Linked DNA regions of Homo sapiens: region 1 is linked to region 2. The links are contacts of gene promoters, found by promoter capture Hi-C in human tissues and cell types (Jung and others, 2019). All regions are on one chromosome and are shown on one strand. The core of a region is centred on a gene start or on the middle of the fragment in contact, and the rest is flanking DNA. Distances in the headings are between cores, read along the strand shown. Region 1 overlaps LINC01640 (long intergenic non-protein coding RNA 1640). Region 2 holds the start of BPIFC (BPI fold containing family C).

What was found. Contacts are between HindIII fragments. The study calls those that stand out against the background at their distance.
Region 1: a contact is called between a fragment that was not itself captured here and the fragment with the promoter of BPIFC in region 2, in 1 of the 25 tissues and cell types used here (dorsolateral prefrontal cortex).

Annotation. Positions count from the first base shown.
Region 1 is chr22:33,108,687-33,113,608 of GRCh38, forward strand. It overlaps LINC01640 (long intergenic non-protein coding RNA 1640), which reads left to right. Exons shown (of 4, transcript NR_134617.1): 2 at 417-547; 3 at 1,723-1,957. It also overlaps a transcript of LARGE1 not described here. Among named protein-coding and RNA genes, the nearest start is that of LINC01640, 2.6 kb to the left of the region's middle. RefSeq lists an enhancer at 1,553-2,752. The HindIII fragment of the contact is 5,583 bases long and covers 546-4,922 here.
Region 2 is chr22:32,462,277-32,467,084 of GRCh38, forward strand. BPIFC (BPI fold containing family C) reads right to left here and starts at 2,170. Exons shown (of 17, transcript NM_174932.3): 1 at 2,098-2,170. The HindIII fragment of the contact is 9,351 bases long and covers 1-4,641 here.

The DNA.
Region 1 (4,922 bases), core at 2,087-4,586, 650 kb after region 2:
TGTGGAAACATCATTTACCTCCACATAGTAATAATAATAATTACTAATATTATTATTAGCAATTATACTACTGTTGCTGAGCCTCCTGAGCATTGCATATGTATTATGTCATTTATCACCACAAAAAGCCCCTGAGGTGTCTACTATTATTACTGAGAGGCAGTAGAATTTAATTATTATGAATGCATGCTCTGAAGCTAGATTATTTGTGTTAAGGTCCTGGCTCCACATTTAGGCAAGTAGCTTAATCTCCCCATGACCTAGTTTTCTTATCTTTATAATGAGGTAATAAAAGTGTCAAGCTGATGAGGTTGTGGAAAGGATTTAATAAAATTCTACCTGTGAAATGTTTAAAATAATGTCTGTCCAATACATTGTGTTCAATGAAGGTTGCCTTTTATTGACCCATTTCACAGAGGAGAAAACTGAGGCTTGGGGAGAGGAGGTCACATTTCAAAGGTCACCTGGCCAGTAATTTGAAGGTTCTGGATTCAAACCCAGGAAGTCTCAACACAGAGCCCCATCTCTCTACCATCTAACAAGCCAGGTTTGGTTGCTAAAGTTGGGGCTTTCTCTGGCAAACTTTTGACATGCTTAACTCTGTTTCAAGGACTTTCTTTTTTAAATTAAAAAAAAAAAAAGTTAACAGACAGGATCTGGCTCTGTTGTCCAGGCAGGAGTGCAGTGGCTATTTATAGGAATGATCATGGCACACTGCAGCCTGGAACTCCTGAGCTCAAGTGATCTTCCCGTCTCAGCCTCCTGACTAGCTGGGACTGCAGGCATGCACCACCATGCCTGATTCAAGGACCTTCTTAAGTCATCGCCTGCCAAAAGGTCCAGCCAGAAGGGGATGAGGAAATGTACCTTTATTTGCTTATTGCTACCTAAAGTTACCATTAATTAATTAATGGATTTTATCAAACATTTATTCACTTATGGATATAGTTTCAATGTTTGCCACCTCCAAATCTCATGTTGAAATGTGATCTCCAATGTTGGAGGTGGGGCCTAGTGGGAGTGGGAGATGTTTGAATTACGTGGGCAGATCTCTCAAGAATGACTTGGTGTCCTCCCTGCAATAATGAGTTCACTGGAGATCTGGTTGTTTAAAGGAGCCTGGCATCTCCTCCTCTCCTTCTTGCTCCCGCTCTTGCCATGTGACACCACCTGCTCCACCTGCATCTTCTGCCATAATTGTAAGATTCCTGAGGCCCTCACCAGAAGCAGATGCCAGCAGCATGCTTATTGCACAGTCTGTAGAACCGTGAGCCAAATAAATCTCTGTTCTCTGTAAATCACCCAGTCTCAGGGAATCCTTTACGGCAATGCAAAGTGAACTAACACGCTTACTCATCCCCTAAGTGTTCAGCATCAAATTTTGTCATTTCACATAAATTATCTCAGATACTGTCCACCACCAAAACTGTCTGACTATTCCCATTTTCTAAGTGGGGACATTGATGCTCAGAGGAGTTAAATAACCTGTTCAAGGCCAGACAATTGCTATTGACATTGCAATGTCTACCCCACACCATCTGCAGGGGTGGGGCCTGATTAATGTGAGCTAGTCACAGAAATCACATCTCCATTTCCAGTGGGAGAATTCAGGCCTAAGCCAATTAGTGCAGAGCATCCTGCCAGCTGTAGGGATTAGTTCAGAAATGAGCGTACGTTTTGAATAAAAAAGGTGCAAGGGGAAATTTTCTGGGGCTTCTGCAGATATTGTCCTCTCTCTCTGGAGAAAGCATCAGCAGGAGCCAGTTTGATCCTCTGACATTGCTGTGTGTGGATATGAGTTCTGGGGATACTGCAGCCACCTCACAAGAAGCTTGTGCGTGACACTGGTGCAGCGGTGGGAATGGCCAGGAGCATCACAGAGACCACTGGATAAAGCCAATCCTGAAGCTTCCTGCTATGTGGGCCAACAGATGTCCTTATTGTTCCAACGGTCTGAGTAAGAATTTCTGCACAGTTCGCACAGCGCGGAATTTGGTTCCAAGTCCAAGTCCAAACTGGGGCTACTCCCCAATCCGTGCCTTCCTACCATGCACGGCTGCAGACTTGGTTCTTCTAGTTGTTTACCATCTGGCAGGAGGTTTTTGGCATTCTGTTGTAGTGGCAGATTTGGTCATCAGTCACAATGCCAAGCTGATGGTGGTTTGAGTCATTGCTTTTCTGTTGGCCTATTTCTTTCATAATAAATATGTATCGCTTAGATAATAAAAACAACAAAGGGGAAAATTCCATGTGAGGCAGAGGTAAACAAAAAAGCTCTGCTTTTAGGAGGCTTATATAAAGATCAAGCTGTATGATGTGTGTTGAGCATGCTTTAAAGAATGCCAAACTGGGTGGGGCCCAAGACAGATAAAAGACACTAAGCCTTTTATCATACCACTAGGCACCAGTGACTTTTGAGACCTGGCAATTAATTAGGAGGAGCTGGTTGTAGTTATTATCAAACCTCCCTAATTTCCCCAAGTGAATGGGTGAGGGCTGGGTTGAGGAGAGATGGGGGAGAGGTGGTAAGAATCCTCTGAAGCCCATTTCTGGAACCTTGGTTTCTCAGGATCGCCGCTTCCTTGGTGGATTTCCTTTCTGCTCTCCTCCAAGTGTCCCTTGTGAGACTCTGACTCCGTAGGACTGGCCCCAGCTAACCCTTTGTTGCTAAGGATGTATCATCTTGCTGGGCTTTACCAAGGGCGTTAATAAAACAGCTTCTATGATTATAGCCACACAAAGGTAGGCAAGGAAAAGACCCTAATTTGGAAAGCAGAAACCCACTCTGCAGCTGGAGCCCAACTCCTGACCTTCCCACCCCCAAAGGCATAGGATAAGATTCCTTTCCCCTAGCTGATTGGATTAATTTCAGCCTCACTGACAATTCCCCCCGTCCAGACTCATTTATCTACTGTTGTTTTTAACCTCAAAAAACGTCATGGCAACAAAGATCAGAGGAAAGATCACAGTGTCGAGTCAGAGAGACATATGCATTTGCATCCCACCTCTGCCTCTTGCTAGAACTCTGATTTTGAGAAGGTTGCTTGAGGTCAGCTCCCTCATCTGTAGGGGGTTGTGATGAAATAAATGATGTAATAGAAACCTTATAAATGCATGAAATTACTGAGGAATTTATGTGCTTCTGGAGGAATTATGGGGCGGGGAAGCAAGAGAGATGCCTTTATTTTCTCCCAGGAATGACAGTGGAAAGCAAGGAAGAGTGTTACAACTGAGGGAACAGACAGTGGAAGGCCTGGGGACAAATAAAGTCCAATATAGCTGGAACGTAGAATATGGGAAATAAATGAAGGCTTGAGATCTGAGGGTTCAAAGCCATATAAGGACTTAGCACATTATCCCAAGAGAAGGGAGGAGCCATTGAAGGGTTTTAAGCAAGGGAATAGCTTGACATGTGTTTTTAAAACTTTACTGTGCCTGTGTAGAGAATAGTTTGCAGGGGGTCAAGGCTGGAGCTGGCAGCCCAGTTAGGAGGCTGATGAACTAGTCCAGAGGATGGGTGGTGGCCTGAGCCAGAAAGACAAAAGTGGGATCGAGAAAAGTGGATGGCTGTGCCACTTGCTATGGCTTCAAGGAAGTTACTTAACCTCACTTAAGTTACTTAACCTTCACTGAGTTAAGTCTCACATTTTTCCCCATTGTTTATGGAGGACAGTAATAGTATGTGCATCCTAGAGTTTTTAGGGGATTAAACGAGAGAATGCATATACAGCGCATAGCACAGCATCTGCCACATCGTATGCGCTGGCAAGATGGAAGCGACTATTACCATTGTTAGTAGTGGAAGTCATGTTGGCAAATATCACAGGGCGCATTCGGGGCATGCTGCTTAAATGAATGAAATAAGTGAATAGACAGTGAGTGCCAGAAAAGGCCCTTTTCAAGACTGAAATCTTGTTTAAAAGGTATAAATAGTCCTGGTGAGGAAGGACAGAGAGAGGTAGGAAGGGTTGTTGTGTAAAGAGGTCAATGTGCTCTCTTGGTGAGCTCTTCTGAGAGTTAGGACACAAAGAGAATGTGTCCAAATGGTGAACAGGTGGGGCAAGCAGGCTGGAGTCCTTTTGAAGAGGGTCAGGAAACAAAAGCCTGCAAGCAGCACAGATGTGTGAAAAAGCTATTTTTAGTCTGGTACAAAAAGCCCACAGGAGAAGTACCACCCCTAACCGTAGTCCTCTTTGTCTCTGTCTTCTCTGCCAGGAAAATCAATCATCATGTCAGGAGGGCAGGTGTTAAAATTGGTCAGAGGAAATAAAAATCCAAGAGAAATGAAGATACAGTGAGAGAATGTCATGCTCTATTAAATGCATTCAAGTCTCGTTGCTCAGAGAAATGACATGTTAGGGTTCAACTCAAAATATAAATGTTTTGTTGTTTTTGTAGGTTTTAAAGGAATATATGCTCATTTTAAGACTCAAACTATCAATAGAAACTATTTTAAGCACCAACTATATGGCAGGAAGTAAGTCTAGAGCCTTATGTATATTTACGTCACTTAATTATCTTTTTTTTTTTTTTTTTTTGAGATGGAGTTTCACTCTTGTTGCCCAGGCTGGAGTGCAATGGCATGATCTCAGCTCACCACAACCTCTGCCTCCCAGGTTCAAGCAATTCTTCTGCCTCAGCCTCCTGAGTAGCTGGGATTACAGGCATGTGCCACCACGCCTGGCTAATTTTGTATTTTTAGTAGAGACGGGGTTTCTCCATGTTGGTCAGGCTGGTCTCGAACTCCCGACCTCAGGTGATCCACCCGCCTTGACCTCCCAAAGTGTTGGGATTACAGGCGTGAGCCACTGCACCCAGCCGTCATTTAATTATCACCCAAACTTGTGTGCATATTATCACTTACCCATTCTACAACTAATGAGCCCAAGACCAAGAGAGCTTAAGTGACTTGCCCAGAGTTG
Region 2 (4,808 bases), core at 920-3,419:
GTACCTATTAGACTGTGTGCAAATTAAGGCAGACATGATATCTCTCCCTGGCACATGGTAAGACCCAAATTAATATGTGCTAACTGATCAACTGACTGACTTAAAAGATTCCAGTCAACTAAGAAAGGTTCTACAAATGGTTAGAAAAAAAGGAAAAACCAAACTATCATATATAATATAGAGCTCTCCATTTCTATAGTGAAAAAAACATAATAAACCAGAGAAGAAATATTACTTGTGAATGGAATAACAACTAAAATAATAAATTTTTATTTCTTTACCCTTTACAAAACTCACAGTTCTTTGAAGTGGATGTTCTTATTATCTTACTCCCATTTTAGACACGTGGACATGGAGGCTTAGAGAATCTGATGACTCGTCCAAGATCCCACAGTAAGTAAGGCACCTGGGAACCCAACCTTGTTCTTCTGGTTCCTAATTCTAGTGTTGATGAATTTATTTTTATTGAATGACTCGATACATGCTAGGGTTTTCATTTTCATCTGGGAATTTTAAATAGGAGTTGCTTGACACCATTTTCCTTTTTGTTGTTGTTGTTTAAAAGTTACTCAATTTTTTTTATTACACTTTAAGTTCTAGGGTACATGTGCACAGAAAACCAAACACCATTTTCAAGGTGGAAAAATTCAATAAGCATCTAGAAACGTTCAAGCATCACAGTGCAAATCCCTTCTTATTTTCTTGGACACAACTGGAGTTTTAAATTCCCTGCCAGCAGTAAAACCTGTTTTCCCTTCTTGGTTAAAAAAAGTTTCTGAAGTGGTACACTTTGATGGAGATCCAGGAATCCAAAATTACAGGCAGGAAAACATATTTTTCCTCTAGAAATTTTATGAGTGAAAGAAATTACTGGGGTATGAAGGGGTGAATTGTACATAACTTTTCATTGAATTGTTCAGTTACGATGATAACTTATGGGCAGGGGAGGAAAGGAACCTTGTCAAGCAAGGTGATGACTACTAAAAGGTTAAGTAATTTGGCTGACAAGTGCAGGCAGGGCTAGTTGCCTGTTAAAAGGATCCAAGATCACTTAAAAACCCCACCAGCAAGTTATCTATTTTGTTGCTTCTGGGGAATTGCTTCTTTCCAAGATTCAAAATCTCAGTAGTCATTATTTTTCCATACAAATACACAGACAGAATAATACTCCTAAATTAAATGGTCCTTGTGTGAGTCATCCTGACAGCTAAGAAAATGCCAGTCCAATTTAGAAAACACCTGAAACTCACAGATGGTCCTACTACTACTGCTGCTTGGCAAGAGCTTTGACTGACTCTGGAAAAACCGATTAAGGGAGTAATGAATGAGTAAAATGTAGCCTTCAAAACAGAGGCGCAGGTTGAAAAATTAAGTTCAACAGGTTTAAAGAAGTCTAAACTAGAAGGGTATTCCGACATATTGGTTAAGACAAAATGACCGTACATAAGAAGTCTAAATCGACAGGTATGGAACGTGGGCAGAATATTTCAAGGGATCCACTCCTCACATCTAGTTTTATAGCAACATCTCTAATGACAAGGACCTTGAGAATTCATAGCATGTCTTTTCCCCAAAACTCTATGCCTAACACCAACAAGTTCAACAGTCCAGGCAAGTGGGTGGCTAGTTTTGCTCTGGCAGGATCTAGGTCACTGATGTGCTTTAAGACCTGCCTTGAAAGCACAGAGATTATAACAACTCCTTAGTCCTAACCATGCTGATTTTGAGAGACAAGATAGAATTTTCTGCCACTGTGCTGGGTTCCCCTCTGAAATGGAGGCAAAAATAAGTCCAGATCACTGAGCAACCCTCTTAACATTGTTCCATGATGCAAAACTAAGTAGGTGGTTTAAACCAACTCTTTTCTCTCTTATGGCTGTTTAGCTGTCACTAAAGCTTTTGCCTAAGAAGCCTCCAGGTGCGCATATGTGACATCACACAAACAAACAAACAAAGATACAGAAAAATCTAGGCAGACAATAATAATAACCCAGGATATATGACAGCTGCCTGTTCAAAGTGTCCTACCAAATCTGGGACATCTCCAGTTTGGAGATCATGGCTGGCAGAGACCTGAAGTTTGTTCATGAGTCTTACCTCAAGCAGAGGAAGTGTCCAAAGCTGGAGAGCACCTTCGATTCTCTCTGCCTTTGAAGCTGATGTGTTCTCCACCTTGCGCCTTAAACTCAGCTGCTAAAAAGCCAAGATAATTAAGTCTGACTCATCTCAGTGGTGAATTTTTTTAATGCCTCTTTCAAAATGTGATACATAATTGCTTCACTACAATTACCCAATGGCATGAATGAGCACTACAGTATCTACCTAGATAAACAGACAGTGCCACCTATGCAATAATTATCTTCCTGCAAAACACACACACACACACACACACACACACACACACACCACTTGTGAAATTGTGATGGCTACTTTACCAAAATGATTGAAAACGGTGTTAAACTGCATTGGAAGAGGAAGAATTTTCCTGTCTGGAATCATAAGCTGGTTCCTTCTGGTCAGGGTGCCTGCGGTGGATGGCTCTACTACTGCCCAGAATACCTTTGGGACTTGTGGTGGATCATCAGATTCAGTCTGAAAGCATGAGGCTTGACAATCGGGCTGACCTAGTTACCTTATCACTCAGGGTAGGACCTCAGTTGGCATCTCTCAGTGTCCGTCCGCTCCTTTTCAGAATGTTATTAATGACTTACTGTTCCAGCATTCCTTAAACCTAAGTTGGGTGGGTGGGTTCATCAACTATTATGCAACTTAACATTTTCAGATTCCAAACTCCAGCCCTACTCTCATCTCCAATAAATTCATTTTAGTTAATGTGTTTTATCTATTTTTATTTTTATTTATTTATTTTTTGAGATGGAGTCTCACTCTGTCACCCAGGCTGGAGTGCAGTGGAGCGATCTTGGCTCACTGCAACCTCCGCCCCCTGGGTTCAAACAATTCTCCTGCCTCAGCCTCCCTAGTAGCTGGGATTACAGGAGTGCGCTACCACGCCCAGCTAATTTTTTGTATTTTTAGTACAGACAGGGTTTCGCTGCATTGGCCAGGCTGGTCTCGAACTCCTGACCTCATGTGATTGATCCACCCGTGTTGGCTTCATAAGTGCTGGGATTACAGATGTGAGCCATCATACCCGGCCATTAATGTATTTTAGATGGCCAGGGATTTGATTGTATGAAGTTTTTTTTTTTGTTTTTTGGTTTTTTTTTTTTTGAGACAGTCTCACTGTCACCCAGGCTGGAGTGCAGTGGCATGATCTTGGCTCACTACAACCTCTGCCTCCAGGGTTTAAGCGATTCTTGTGCCTTAGCCCTCTGAGTAGCTGGAATTACAGGTGTGCACCACCAAACTTGGCTAATTTTTGTATTTTTAGTAGTGATGGGGTTTCACCATGTTGGCCAGGCTGGTCTTGAACTCTTGACCTCAAGTGATCCACCTGCCTTGGCCTCCCAAAGTCCTGGGATTACAGGCATGATCCACCGCACCCAGCCTGATTGCATGAAGTTCTTATGGCTTATCTACACTTTTCTGGGTAAGACCCGGTGACCAACTGTCCTGGTTTCCCAAGAATGCAGGATTTTCAGTACTAAAACCAGAACAGTCCTGGGAAAATCAGGATGATAAGTCAGTCTGAAAGGAACCACAGACGCTTTCACTTGGCATTGTCCATACTTCTCACAGCTTCTCAGGGGAGTTATACCTTGGGTTATACTTACTGATTTGAACTGAGTTTCCTTAAGGTAAAGTGGGGATAGAAATAGTAACTTCCTTGATTGGTTCTGGTGAAGAAAAACATAATAACACATGAGAATGCGCTATTAAAACTGTAAACTGCTGTGAAATTCTACTCATTAGCACGTGGCCGTATCAATAATGATACGGTGCAGAGACGCTCTTCATGGGATCATTTATTGTCGGTCATCATAGATGAATTCATTCATTCAATCAACAGATTTACTGAGCACCTACAATGTGCAAAGTCCTCTTCAGCAAAAAAGATGAAATTTTTGTCCACGAGGAGTTTATGTTCTAGTCGATGGAGACAAAATAAATAAGCAAACAATAAAATAAACAAAAATGTATAAATTGTGACATGTACTGTGACGGAACTAAGGGAATGTTGTTGGTAAGGTGGTCTTGTAATAGGTAGAGCAATGCAACTGGGGGAGGTGGGCTTATTTTATCAGGATACCCACGTGGGCGTCTCTGAGGAGGTGATTATTTGCGCTGAGATGTGACCGTTGGAAGCCAGGCAGGCAAAGTGCTGAAAGGAAAAGGTGGAGGGAACTGCAAAGGTGAGCCAGTTTGTCTGAAATGGAGTTGGGGCAGAAGTTATGGTATTCGAGATGTAAATGGTGATGTCAGGTGGGTAGAGTTCAGGGAAGAGGTCAACTGGAAATATGAATGTCTAAGTCATCATCCGAAAGGTGGAGTTAAAGCCACAGAAATGAATGAGATCATTGCAGGCAGCTTCCCACGTGCATGTGCTACTGAAAGTGTGGAAGATGAGTTCAGGCGCTATGCAGAGAAGCTCTTGAAATTGTACTGTGCATTAGAAAAAATACAGAGCTAGACATGGAAGACGAAGGACAACATGGAAGATGAAGGACAACATCAAAAGCACTATATGGAAAAAAAAAATCACAAAACACCTCTACATCTTTCTACCTTTTCCTCACTATTTTCCCCGGGTGGCAACATCAATTTCCTCCCCCGCCCCCTCTCTCCCTGTCCTTCTCCAGGGTCCGAGGTCTCCTCTTTCGTTTCTCTCCTCTCCAGAGCAGCTTCTT